3 separate regions of the Homo sapiens genome follow, and regions 2 and 3 are each linked to region 1. The links are contacts of gene promoters, found by promoter capture Hi-C in blood cells and fetal thymus (Javierre and others, 2016). All regions are on one chromosome and are shown on one strand. Each heading gives the region's core, a stretch centred on a gene start or on the middle of the fragment in contact. The rest is flanking DNA. Distances are from core to core; before and after follow the strand shown. Region 1 has its middle 170 kb from the start of TRIM33. Region 2 holds the start of AMPD1 (adenosine monophosphate deaminase 1). Region 3 holds the start of DENND2C (DENN domain containing 2C).

What was found. The method cuts DNA at HindIII sites, captures the fragments that hold promoters and counts their contacts. A CHiCAGO score of 5 or more calls a contact.
Region 2: a contact is called between the fragment with the promoter of AMPD1 here and a fragment that was not itself captured in region 1, in 2 of 17 cell types (total B cells and erythroblasts). The highest score is 7.1, in total B cells.
Region 3: the fragment with the promoter of DENND2C here is called in contact with a fragment that was not itself captured in region 1 in 15 of 17 cell types (naive B cells, total B cells, erythroblasts and 12 more); the score reaches 11.0 in naive B cells.

Annotation. Positions count from the first base shown.
Region 1 is chr1:114,336,750-114,341,161 of GRCh38, reverse strand. No RefSeq gene overlaps it. Among named protein-coding and RNA genes, the nearest start is that of TRIM33, 170 kb to the left of the region's middle. The HindIII fragment of the contact is 3,280 bases long and covers 1-2,890 here.
Region 2 is chr1:114,693,716-114,698,127 of GRCh38, reverse strand. It overlaps AMPD1 (adenosine monophosphate deaminase 1), which reads left to right and starts at 2,582. Exons shown (of 16, transcript NM_000036.3): 1 at 2,582-2,678. The coding sequence starts at 2,657. It also overlaps the pseudogene RN7SL432P. The HindIII fragment of the contact is 1,819 bases long and covers 2,448-4,266 here.
Region 3 is chr1:114,668,103-114,672,514 of GRCh38, reverse strand. DENND2C (DENN domain containing 2C) reads left to right here and starts at 2,466. Exons shown (of 21, transcript NM_001256404.2): 1 at 2,466-2,532. It overlaps LOC124904354 (a long non-coding RNA gene), which reads right to left and starts at 2,104. Exons shown (of 2, transcript XR_007066465.1): 1 at 1,865-2,104; 2 at 1,561-1,666. RefSeq lists an enhancer at 2,093-2,252 and a silencer at 2,373-2,462. The HindIII fragment of the contact is 6,814 bases long and covers 1-4,412 here.

The DNA.
Region 1 (4,412 bases), core at 1-2,500:
TGGTATCCTCCCCACCTCCTTTAAGGGCATGTCCTGGAGATGACCCATGCTGTGGTTTGAGTGATGGTGTCCCCTCCAACATTTACATATTGAAACTTAATCCTCATAGTGGCAGTATTAAGAGGTGGGGCCTTTTGGGAGATGCTTAGATCATGAGGGCTTCTCCCTTGTGAATAGGAATAAAGCCTTCATAAAAGAGCCTTCACAGAGAGTCTGGCCCTTTTTTGCCCTTCTGTCATGTGAGGACATAGCATTTTTCACCTCTGGAGGATGCTGCAACAAGGCACCATCTTGGAAGCAGAGAGCAGCCCTCACTGACAGCAAACCTACTGGTGCCTTGATCTTGAACTTCCCAGCCTCCAGAACTGTGATAAATAAATTCCTGTTCTTCACAAGTTACCCGGTCTCAGGTATTTTGTTATAGCAGCACAATGGATGAAGATAGCCCACCTTTCTTCTTTCACTTCATTGGCCAGAGCTGGTTATATAACCATATCAGCTGAAAGGAGGCTGGGTTAGAGAGAACAAGAGAGTGGATATTGATGGAGAACTTCAATTTCTACCCCAGACTTCATCAGTTAGCCCCCATCAAGTCAGGTTGGATCATTTTTATTACCATTCCAGCCCTCTTGTCTATTATAACTACCATGATTATCTTGTCTTTTGTAGTTAAGTGCCTGAAATCAGCTTCTGCTATTCTGGTATCTTTCCTTTTCCATTAAAATCAGGGATCCCATTTCAACTGCTTACAATTGCATCTTTAGTTTACGGAAATCAGTCACAAGACTGCTTCTCAGAGATAGAGGTGCTCCCTCACCAATCTGGGCCCTCTTCTGGGCCCTCTTGAGAGAGAATTAGCAGATGAATGGGTAGGTGACACATGATAAATCCTCTCCAGCACTTCTATATTCCGAAATTTTTGGATTATTTCTTCCATTGTTTCATGGAATTTCATTTCACATGAGCCACTGTTGAGCCCACATTTCAAAACAACTGACAGGCAGCAATTAGGGCCACTTGCAATGGCTGGAGATAGCACACTGTCTCCTGATTTCTGGTGAGCATACTCCTGATTAATTTCAGGCTGATTTAAAATAATGCACGGTGCTGGACACTGTGGTGCACCACTGTATCCCCTCTCAGAAATGAAGGACTTACTCTCCCAGCTGCTGGGAGTGGGCCCTCAGCCAGCAGCTCACTCTGGGGATGCCTTGAGTGAAGAAATGTCCCTAGCCCAAGGTCATGTCCCCATCATGAAGCAGCCACATCCAACGACTGGTCAAAGTTGGGTTAACAAAGGCTGGCTCCTTGGTTCCAACTCAGAAGAGCTCTAAATGACCATCTAGCTCCAGAGCTATGCTAATTGTGCGCACAGCACAACTGCTTCCTTGCCCAAGGCTGCTTCTGTCCCTTCTGCTCCACAGGGGTGGTCTCAAGCTCACTTCCTGATAAAGGTCTTGCTTGCTAATCTCCACCTTAGAATCTGCTTATCTGAGTCTTTTGGTGGGGATTTAACTTTTTAAGTAATCAAAAGCTCCACTTCCTGCTTCCAGGTCATGCGAGAGTCTGACTCTATTTACAGACTTATGAGCCATGAGTGACGGCGTGGAGGAAAGAGGCATGAGCAGAGCTGGCTTCTTTCTGTGAGGAAGTCTGTGCACAGAGTTAGAGCATCTTCAAACTACGCAGGAGCAGCCTCATCAGACAAGGGAGGGACATGCCTTTTAGCTGGCAAGAGAGACCCGGAGGGTTCCATGTTTGGTGTTCTATGAGTCTCCGAGATCTTCCCAAATGTCCTTATTACAATTTTGGGGGTCGCTGTCTTTTTTTGGGGCGGGGACATGGTTTTTCTCTGTCGTCCAGGATGGAGTGCAGTGGTGCAGTCTTGGCTCACTGCAGCCTCAACCTCCCAGGCTAAGTGATCTTCCCACTTCAGCTTTCTGAATAGCTGAGACTACAGGTATGCAACACCATGCTCAGTTAATTTTTTTTGTAGAGATGAGGTCTCAGTATATTGTCCAGGCTAGTCTTAAACTCCTGAGCTCAAGTGATCCTCCTGCCTTGACTTCCCAAAGTGTAGGATTATAGGCGTGAGCCATCGTGCCCCATGTAGGGGCCACAGTCCTTTCTGAACAATGCCCTATCCTTTATATAACATACCTAGGGAGTTTTGATATAGAAGTTAAGAAATTACTTAGGCAGATAGTGAGGGTAGGGAAGTCCTCAGTAAGATTTTCCTTTTAATGAAAAGCAGCCCCAAATCATTTTCCCTTCTAACAAAGAGCAGCCTGTAAAATTGAGCTGATAGATACCGGCAGTTGTGCCAATCATGTTCAAAATGGTGGCCCCATCTTCCCTTCTCTTTATCAGCCACGTGTACAGTAAAAAGGAGACAAGGTGGCACGGGTCAGCAGGAGAGTTCATTTACATAATAAGATTAGGGCAGGGTAGCCAGCCTTCCCCGGGGCTGTGTAAACATCATACCTGATCCAACCAATCTGTGAGCCCTACGTAAATCAGGCGACATCTCCTCAAGCTGGACTATAAAACCCAGTGCCTCCTCCACCAGCTGGTCATTTTCTGTTGGGAGACCCCTCTCTAGAGAGAGAGCTGTTTCTATTTCTCTTCTCTTCTCTCTATTAAATCTCTGCTCCTAAACTCCTCGTGTGTCTCCCTGTCCTAAATTTTCCCGGCGCGAGATGACGAACCCCAGGGTATATACCCTGGACCATGTAGCTGCTTCAGTATGTCACCTCAGCAGATGTTGAAATTTGGCAATGCACTTCTGTGCTTGGCTTTCAGCTATGCTAGCCTTAAAAGACTGTAAATAAGATATCATTTTAGCACATTACTGGAAAGTCTTTGAGTTGGACATTTAGAGATTTAAGCTTGTCTTCTTTTTTTTTTTTTTTTAACTCTCTTGTTCTCTTGGGAAAAGCTACATTTACAACAGTCTGTATGACTCAAGCTCTTCATTTCATTCTATGCAAGTAGCGATATGGTCTTCAAAGTTTTGCCTTAATGAATTCTTCATTCCAGGTGACTATAAGTGAGCATTTAATTTGAGCAATTTACCACTGTGAGCCACTGACTGCCAGATTCCCTGAATATCAACTGGATTTTAGTATTCTGACTAGACTTATAACCAATCTTCCGGCAAACTCTCCATTTCCTTGTGGCTCTGTCTTGTTGTAAATTTCTTTACTAGTTGGGGTTCTTCAGTGCAAACAACAGTAACCCACTTTGGATGACTTAATCAGAAAAGGAAATGATTTAGGGAGGATATTGGATAGCTCACAGAGACTGCAGTGGGGCTGGAGAACCAGGTTTAGAAAATGAGCAGGAGCCAGGGTAGGATGGGGTGGGGTATACTATGGCCACCCCCACAGGATGCAGATACTCCTGCTTGGACCAACACAGGACGCTGGATGTTACCACTGGCGTCATTTGAATGAAATTTCAGCTATCCCCTGCTTTTTTGTTTCACTAATGAACAAAGCATTGAGCAGAATTAGCTGATTGGCAATACTTGGGTCATGTGACTCATGACCTCAGATGTCATGGAGAGTAAGTATCTGGCCTTTTGGACTTTTGGAGAATTAGTGGGTGTGATGTCTCCGACCAAATCCATACAATGGGAGAGCCTCTGGCATATAAAGTAGGTTCATAAGATGCAGAGCAGAAACCGAACAAAACCAAACCAAGTTCATTACATCCCTCTCCCTCTTTTCTAATAGATTTCCAGTCATTTCCACTTGGATACCCGACAGGCTGCTCAAGCTCCCCATATCAAAACTAGAGTCGTCATCTAACCGAATATGCTTCTTCTTCATCCCTCTTACATCCCTCAACTCAGTTGGTGACATTTGTCTCCATTCATTCAGTTGTCTCAGCTAGGATCCCAAGAGGCTTCCTTGACTTACTTTCCATATCCAATCAGTTACCGTGTCTTTTATTATTTATTTATTTATTTTTCCCAAGATAGAGTCTCGCTGTGTCATGCAGGCTGGAATGCAGTGGCACAATCTCGGCTCACTGCAACCTCCGCCTCCCGGGTTCAAGCAATTCTGCTTCAGTCTCTCAAGAAGCTGGATGACAGGTGCGTGCCACCTTGCCTGGCTAATTTTTGTATTTTTAGTGGAGACAGGGTTTTACCATATTGGCCAGGCTGGTCTCGAACTCCTGACATTATGATCTGCCCTCCTCGGCCTCCCAAAGTGTTGGGATTATAGGCATGAGCCCCGTGCCCCACTTACCCTGTCTTTTAGATTCTACCTTTTAGGTGTTTCATCGATTTACTTCTTTCTTATCTTTATTGCCATTACCCTATTTTAAGTCCTTATCATCCTCTTATTTTTTTTTTCTTTTTTCTTTTTGTTCCTCTTTCAATACCTTCTTAACTGGTATGTAAA
Region 2 (4,412 bases), core at 1,333-3,832, 360 kb before region 1:
TCCCGAGTAGCTGGGACTACAAGCATGCACCACCACACCCAGCTAATTTTTGTATTTTTAGTAGAGACGGGGTTTCACCATGTTGGCCAGGATGATCTCGATCTCTTGACCTCGTGATCTGCCTGCCTCGGCCTCCCAAAGTGCTGGGATTACAGGCATGAGCCACTGCGCCCAACCATTTTTCTTATGTATCAAGAAGTCTTGCTGGGTATGGTGATGCATGTTTGTACTCCCAGCTACTCAGGAGGCTTGGGTAGGAGGATCACTTGAGTCCAGGAGTTCTGGGCTATAGCAATCTATGCTGATCAAGTGTCCACACTAATTTCAACATCAACAGGGTGACCCTCCAGGAGCGGGGGACCACCAAGTTGCCTAAGGAGTGAACTAGCCCAGGTCTGAAACAGAGCAGGTCAAAACTCCTGTGCTGATTTTAGTAGTAGGATCACTCCTGTCAATAACCACTACACCCTGGCCTGAGCAACATAGTGAGACCCTGTCTCTTAAAAAAATTCCTTAATTAAACAAGAATTCTAAATATGGGAAGTCCTGGACTAATATGGTGGCTTTAGGATGCCATCAGGGACCCTAATTATTTGTTTCTGTTCAGATAGTCTTCATGTGGCTCTTGTCCTGCTCACCATTTGTGTTAAAACAATGGTTGGTTTGGAGGCCCCTATCCACATATTTCCTTTTTCAGGCAGGAAGAAGAGGAAGGGCAAAAGGCAAAACATATGCCAGCTGAGCTGGTCCCTTTTAAAAGAACTTTTGGAGACATCCCACCCAGCAATTCTGCTTACATCACTTTGGCCAGGCTGTGTCAAATGGCCGCTTCTAGCCACAAAGGATTCTAGCAAATGCTGTTTTTTGGCTGAGCACATTAATGCTCAAACCAAAGAAGTTTTTGTTTGTAAGAAAGGTAGGGAAAATGATCTTTGGGTAGGCAACTAGGGTATTTACACAATTGGAATGAGAAAATTGGAGTGTAACTTATATAAAGATAGGAATTACTGAAGGAGAAGCAGGTTCATGGAGGAAGATGCTTGGTTTGGATGTATCAATTTGTGGATACTGTTGGGAAATCCAGGTAAAAATGTAACAAAAAGGAGTTGGAAAGAAATGAACAAATATTTTGGTTCAGTAACACCTTTGTAATGTGTTGCAATATTGTTGATTGAGAGGTTGGCCATAAGGCTAAGCACTAAAATATTGTTAAGTTTTGCCAACAAAAAGGCTTGTCCCAATTTTCAAAAAGAAATAGTTAATAGTAAAAAGATCATTTGGTCTATGCCCATAATTCTGTTGCTAATCTGAAGTGCCAAGCTCATCTTCAATATAAGCTGTTATAATTTAAAATTTCTGCTGAGTCTAGCAGCGTACTTTCTTTACCTAGCAGCAACTATCAAATATTTAGTCATAACTGGCCGGGCGCAGTGGCTCACGCCTGTAATCCCAGCACTTTGGGAGGCCAAGGCAGGTGGATCATGAGGTCAGGAGATCAAGACCATCCTGGCTAACACAGTGAAACCACATCTCTACTAAAAATACAAAAAATATTAGCCGGGCATGGTGGCAGGCGCCTGTAGTCCCAGCTACTCGGGAGGCTCAGGCAAGAGAATGGCGTGAACCCGGGAGGCAGAGCTTGCAGTGAGCCGAGATCGCGCCACTGCACTCCAGCCCGGGCAACAGAGCGAGACTCTGTCTCGAAAAAAATATATGTATATACACATATATATACATATATACATATATATACACACACATATATACAGTCATAACTAAGACTGTGTGTTATTATGGAAAGAGCGTGAGATTTGGGTCCAGAGAGCCTTGGCTTTGCCATTTATGATGAACAGAATGACTTTGAGCAAGATACCTGTCAGAGCCCCAGTTTTCTTATTTGGGAAACAGGGATAAGGTATTACTTGCCTTACAGGATTGTAATTAGTATCAAATAGATAATGTTTGCCAAATGTTTTACATACAATAAAATGTTATACAAAACAAAGCTATTGTTCTTATTATAACAATAGGTAGAGAAGTGGTAACTGGATACTCTGGAGGACAGTTGAGTTTCTGTAAAAGACTTGAAGTAAATTTAACACTTAATTCATTAAACTGTCAACTGAAGTTCTGCTAAGTCAGACACATTACTAATAAAAACATGCATTCCTGAGCGTGTGTGCGTGTGCGTGTGTGTCTGTTGAGAGCTTGATGAATGTACCAGCATATTCACCAACCACAGAAAGCTGTTTGCGTGATGTGAAACCCTGAGGATCATAGCTTCAGAAACCGGAAAGACTTCACTGTATTTCACTAGGGTGGGATATCACCATCAGTGGTCCTACACTTGCCAAAGATCCAGTCTGTAAGAAGATTTAGAGAGTATTGAAATGCAATTTTTGGCCCACCACAGATATCTTCTAATCCCAAAGTAAAGACTGAAAGCTTCACCTGTTTTTCACTATCAAATGCCTCAAGCTATAAATAGGTCCAAAGCTCATCTCTCTCCACTTAGCAGAGAAGAATCAAATTTCCGGGGGCAAAGCAAAATAATAAAATGAATGTCAGGATATTTTATAGTGTCAGTCAGTCACCCCACAGTCTCCTCTCTCTTCTTTTCTACTGTGCTATCCTAGAATCAAGGATTTCAGCAACAATGCCTCTGTTCAAACTCCCAGGTAGGTGTACAAAGTGTTTGGAGAGCTCAGTTGTTGTTGTTTTTTTTTTTTTTTGACAAGCAACTGTTCCTTTAGCTACCATATCAGCTTTGATCATTCATTTAGGGTTCGTGATAGCTTTAACATACATTTCAGGAAAACACAAAATATTTTCAAGGGTTTTTTGTTTGTTTTTAGTTTTGGGATGTGGGTAAGTTTCTAAAACTGTTATCATGTATATTGCATCTTTGATGATCCCAGTAGAAAACTCTGTGAAATATTTAATATCTATTCTGCTAGTCTAAACAAAACCTGTGCTGCCATAGCTCTGAGACGGCTTCTACATAATGACTCTAGCTATGGTATTGGCTGAAAATCATGAACATGACAAAAATAACCCATGTGTGTATTCTGATGGTTCACGAGAATAGCTTTCTGTTGTCCAGGTTTGTACGCAGAGTAATTTTTAAAATAATAATGTTATAATTTTTAAATGATAAAAGCAATACATGTTTCATGTGAAATAGAAATTGTGCTGAAAAAATAAAAGTAATAAACATTCGTTTTGAAAGTTGGGAAATTCAGTAAAAGTAATAATTTTATTTTTTACTTATTTATTTATTTTTTGAGACAGGGTGTCACTCTGTTGCCCAGGCTGGAGTGCAGTGGCACGATCACGATTCACTGCAGCCCCAATCTTCTGGGATCTGGTGATCCTCCCACCTCAGCCTCCCGAGTAGCTGGGACTACAGGCACTTGCCACCACGCCCAGCTAGTTTTTGTATTTTCTGTAGAGACAGGGTTTCGCTATGTTGCCCAGGCTCATCTTAAACTCCTGAGCTCAAGCAATCTGCCTGCCTCAGCCTCCCAAAGTGCTGGGATTACAAGTGTTAGCCACTGCACCCAGCCAAAAGTAATAATTTTAAAAATCTGCACATCCATTATCCAAAGATATTCACTCTTAACATTTTAGTGTTTTTTTTTCTTTTCAATCTATTTTCTGTGTAAAATTAAAGAGTTTTTTTTAAAAAGGCACTGTTATTATATTGCACATGTAATTTTATATCCTGCTTTTGGCAGGATAATGTTTTGGCTTAACTTTACAACTTATCCTTTTACCATGGTATCCCAAACCTTTCCTAAAAACCATTTTAAAAGACTGCATATTCTATTTTCTTAATTAATCCCTTAGGTTCTTTATGGTTTGGGGGTTTTTTTTTGTTTGTTCGTTTTTGTTTTTGTTTTTGTTTTTTTAGAGACAGAGTCTCGCTCTGTCACCCAGGCTGGAGTGCAGTGGTGCGATCTTGGCTCACTGCAAGCTCCACCTCCCGGGTTCATGCCATTCTGCCTCAGTCTCCCGAGTAGTTGGGACTACAGGCGCCTGCCACCACGCCCGGCTAATTTTTATATTTTTAGTAGAGACGGTGTTTCACATATAACACAGTGAATATCTGTATTAGCCAGGATGGTCTCGATCTCCTGACCTCATGATCTGCCAGCCTCGGCCTCCCATAGTACCAGGATTATAGGCGTGAGCCACTGCACCCGGCCTCTTTATGGTTTTTTTAAGTATAAGTATGTTCTGATAACAATATTGACACCTAAAGCTTTTTCCATGTTTAAGGATGATTTCCGTAGGATAGCTTCTCAGAAATGGTTGTTTGGTAGGTGTTACTAAATTGTTTACCAAATGAGCTGTTTTAAGTTTACTACTACCAACATCATATGAGCATTCCCATCTTTCTTCATCAGATA
Region 3 (4,412 bases), core at 1,217-3,716, 330 kb before region 1:
CCAAAGTAAAATGTACATATAACTTTTAAGAAGCATGCCTATTACTTAAGGTCAGGTGAAATTCCAAATGGGCAGATGATACTTCCACACATACAACTGTGTTGGCATCTAGTGGCTGGGCTGACATTTCATTCAACTTATTCAATAAACAATTATTGATCAAATAGCTAAATTATCAGGTACTATTCTAAACACCAAAGGTATACAGAATAAGATTTCATTCCTATCCTCTAGTTGTCCTCAGCATGAAGTTATAGTGTGGCTACAAGTAAAAAATAGAATTTTGTGAAATGTCTTCAAAAGTAATGAACTTTTTTCTTTTTTTTGAGACAGGGTCTTGCTCTGTCACCCAGGCTGGAGTGCAGTGCAGTGGTGTAATCACAGTTCACCGCGGCCTCGGCCTCCCAGGCTCAGGTGATCCTCTTACCTCAGACTTCCGAGTAGCCAGGACTACAGGCACATGCCACCACACCCAGCTACTTTTTTGAACCTTTTGTAGAGACGCGGTTTCACCATGTCACCCCAGCTGGTCTCAAACTCCTATGCTCAAGCGATCCATGTGCCTTGGCCTCCCAAAGTACTGGGATTACAGGCGTGAGCCACTGTGCCCAGCCTGAACTTTCAAATGGAAAAAAAATTGAAAGCAAATTTCTGCACGTTTCTATATTCTACACATGCAGCCATAAGCATAGGTGTAACCCTGATGGCATGTTTGTACTAGCTCTGGTGTAAGAATCTCTTCCTGATTTCTGAAGTTGAAGTTTTGTTTGTTGAGTATTTGTGAACCCTTTAAAGAACCAGATTTTATTTTACCTTGGCCTCCTCATCATCAAAATAGTACAAATTGCTACATTAAACACTGTATTCTCAGACTTCAAAGGGCATTAACTACCATTATGTATATCTCCATCTTACCCATGAGAGGGCAGTAGAATACATACATGTGAATTCATTTATTAATCTATAAATTTGGTTTCATACGTGATACTTGGAATTCAACCTGCCTTATTTTGCCAAATAATCTTCCTGAATGCAGGGGTCAAAAAATACATTTCTGGGCTGGGTGCAGTGGCTCATGTCTGTAATCCCAGCACTTTGGGAGGCTGAGGCAGGAGGACTGCTTGAGCTCGGGAGTTGGAGACCAGCCTGGGCAACATAGCGAGACCCTGTCTCTACAAAAAAATAAAAATAAAAATATTAGCCGGGGGTGGTGGTGCATGCTTATAATACTAGCTGCTTGGGAGGCCGAGGTGGGACGATTCTTTGAGCCTAGGAAGTTGAGACTTCAAGTGAGCTATGATTGGGCCACCGCACTCCAGTGTGAGTGACACAAAGAGACCCTGTCTCAATAAATAAATAGATAGACACATTATATAAGAATTTTTTTTTTTTTGGTGGGGGAAGCCCATAATGATCAGTGTGCAAAATTTACTACAAACAATATCCACATTTATTTCCTCATTGGGACATGATTTTTTTTAAGTATGTCATTACTTTTTTTTCCCCCATCATAGAATGTAATTTCTGTTTTACTGTCTACAGGTGATAGTTTCACAACGGTTTGGGATATGCTACCTTTATTGTTTGGGTTAAGTTTGCTTGTGACAGTCATCCGTGATACGTAACTAAACACCTCTCTTTCTGGTAGTCTTCTATTTTGGTACCTCTGTGTGAACAAATGTAGGAAGAGTTTGGTCACCAGACCCAAGAGGCTCTGGCTGGGTGGGGTGGGGTGGGGTGGGGCGGGGCGAGGCGGGGTGGGGTGGTTAGCGAGTGCCTGGGAAACAGGCTCAACTGATCCTTGTCCCGCAGCCTCGGTGAAACTGGGTTACAGCTTGCAGTAGGCACAACACCACGCACATACCTAAGCAAGAGCGTGTTGCAGGCGGAGCGCTTAGGCATGTGTGTCTCAACAGGGCGTGGGGGCTGACCTCACGCACTGGGAGTATCAAGGCACCCCCGTTCTGAGATTCCAAGCCTGAGGTGCCGCGAGAGTTATTTGCTTCTCTTGACGTTTCAAGTTGGCACCGTAGTGCAATTGTTTGCTCACTGAGGTCAGCCTAGGAAACAGTGCTTGGATTCCCTGATTAAGCCAGGCTTTATCTTGTTGAGTAGTTGTGAAGAGTAAACCTTCACATGAAGCATAGGGCCGTCTCCGTGGGGCCGATGCGACGGCAGGCGAAGGCGATGGAGCTCTGGCTCGAGGGCTTGGCCGGACGACGGTGACACTGGTCGCCCGCCTGCTGGAACTGCAGTGACCGAGGTCCTGGCAAGGTTCTGGCCATACAGCGGACTTGAGGCGTGGTGGTTCCCCTCACCGCCGGCCGGGGCGGTGTCGGAGGCGGGCATAGCGTGAGGGGTGGGAATAGGAGCCAATAAGAACTGAGCCTTGCCAGGGAGGGCGGGGCTAGGGGGTGGGGCTGCAGCCGGGACGGGGCCTTCGGCAGGGCCTGCGGGGGCGGGACGGAGCGGACCCGAGTGATACCCGGGAGACTAGCTTGGCCACAGGAGACAACGTTGAGGTACAGACAGGTAAGAGTCGGGGTGATTCGGCGCGGGGTTTTAAGCCGCAGGGGCTTCGGACTCTCGGGGCTGTCGGCATCACCCTTCTGGGCGTCGGGTGCGGGGCTGTGGCGCCGCGGCGTAGTCCTCGGACGGTGCGAGCCGAGCTGGCGGAGGTGGTGTCTCCGCGCCCCGCTGTCTCGGCACCTCCTCCGTCCGGAGGAGCAACCGGTTGTTGGGCCCAGCTTTGGGACGTCCTCTCGTGGCCGCACGGGTTGTGGCGGAGCCTGGCTGAAGACCTCCTCGCTACCTCAGGGGCTTGGGGACCCCTAGGCTGGGCGCCGCTCTCTGCTGGGGAAGAGGGAGGGAGCGCCCGGCAGCCTGGGGAAACGCGGGCTTTCTCCAAAATTAGCCAGTGAGCTTGAACTTCGACATGCTGGGACGATGCACTTCCAAACAATATTTTGCTTTTTTTGGTGTTTTGATTCTTAACAGCATCTAATACGCACAATACCGAAAGTTGTCAAGTAGAATTTTAATTTAAAAGTCTGACAGTGGAACACCTAAGAGCTTTTGAGTAACTAGAGCTGTATAGCAGCTGATGATTAGATTATGAGTCAAAAGGCTCAAGTCTAGGGCCAGAACCCGCGGAACCAGATGTGATACCTCGGCCAAATTAACTTCCTGGGCCTCTCTTTCCGTAACTGTGAAACTGGCAAGTTCATGCCTATGGGTATTCTCAGGGTCAAATCAGATGAGTGACAGTATTCTACAAATGTCAGATATTTGAACGTGCGTGTGGAGCGTGTATATTCTGTGAAGCAACTACTACTTGCCTGGTACATAGTAGGCACTTTACAAACGTTTACCCTAAAGCTAGTGATTCTTCTGCAGTGTTTTAGATAAAGTGATAGATCCTTGCTTACTGTGTAAATAAGTTGTTTAAACTTTTCCCACAAAGTGACCCCCATTGTTTGAGTGTGTCCTATTTTTAAATGATTGATGAAATTTTCTAGAATAGCACAGTGGTGTTATCTATACACTGTTGCTGAATCATTTACCGCGAAGTCTGTAGCAATCAAATAATCTACTTCTTTGTCTTAGCTAAATAGTTGTAGTTTAAGATACCTGCTAAAGTAAGCTGGGAATATTGTTCCAAATCAAGACTTTAATTTGTTTTTGTGAATTGACGGGCTGCTTATAGGAAGATTTAAATCTTCCAAAATATTGTTAATATATAGCCATATTTTTTCATACAGCCTTTATTATAGACGTTTTTGTTCTTTACTATGGATATGTGTGCGAGGGATTTTAGCGGGGAGATGGGAAATAAAAAAGAAAATGGCAGTTTTGTAACCTGTAGGCTTTTGCTGGGGATACTTGTAGGCCTGTTCTGAGTTTGCCAGGCAGAAACCAGGAAATGTAGTAATTATGTGTCTTGGTCTTTCATTAGTTGGGGTGTGTGTGTGTGTGTGTGTGTGTGTGTGTGTGTTGAATGTGGCAGTACGTTTTTTAAATGCAGCAATAAAGGAAGAATATTTATTTTTCTTAATGACAATAAGCAGTTTTCTAAAGCTGGAAATTATATTACTTTTAAATGGTCTGTAGTGAGTCTTAAGTTATAGGCAAGAATTTTAGACCACTGGATACCAAGATCAAATTAAATGAAGTAGTAGAGGGAAAGTTACTAGTGAATGTAATTTTTGTGTGTGTTGCTTTAGAAGTTTTACTTAAACATGTTTCAGCAATTCAGTGGAGGATGGGTCTTTTGAAGCTACTTTAAAACATGAGTTTTAAACGTACTCCATGTATAAATTTTTCTGTGATTTACAATTTCTTGATCTTGGAGGTCTGAAACCTTACATTCACATTGTTTTTTGAGGGCCTACTACACAATAGGCACAAGATTA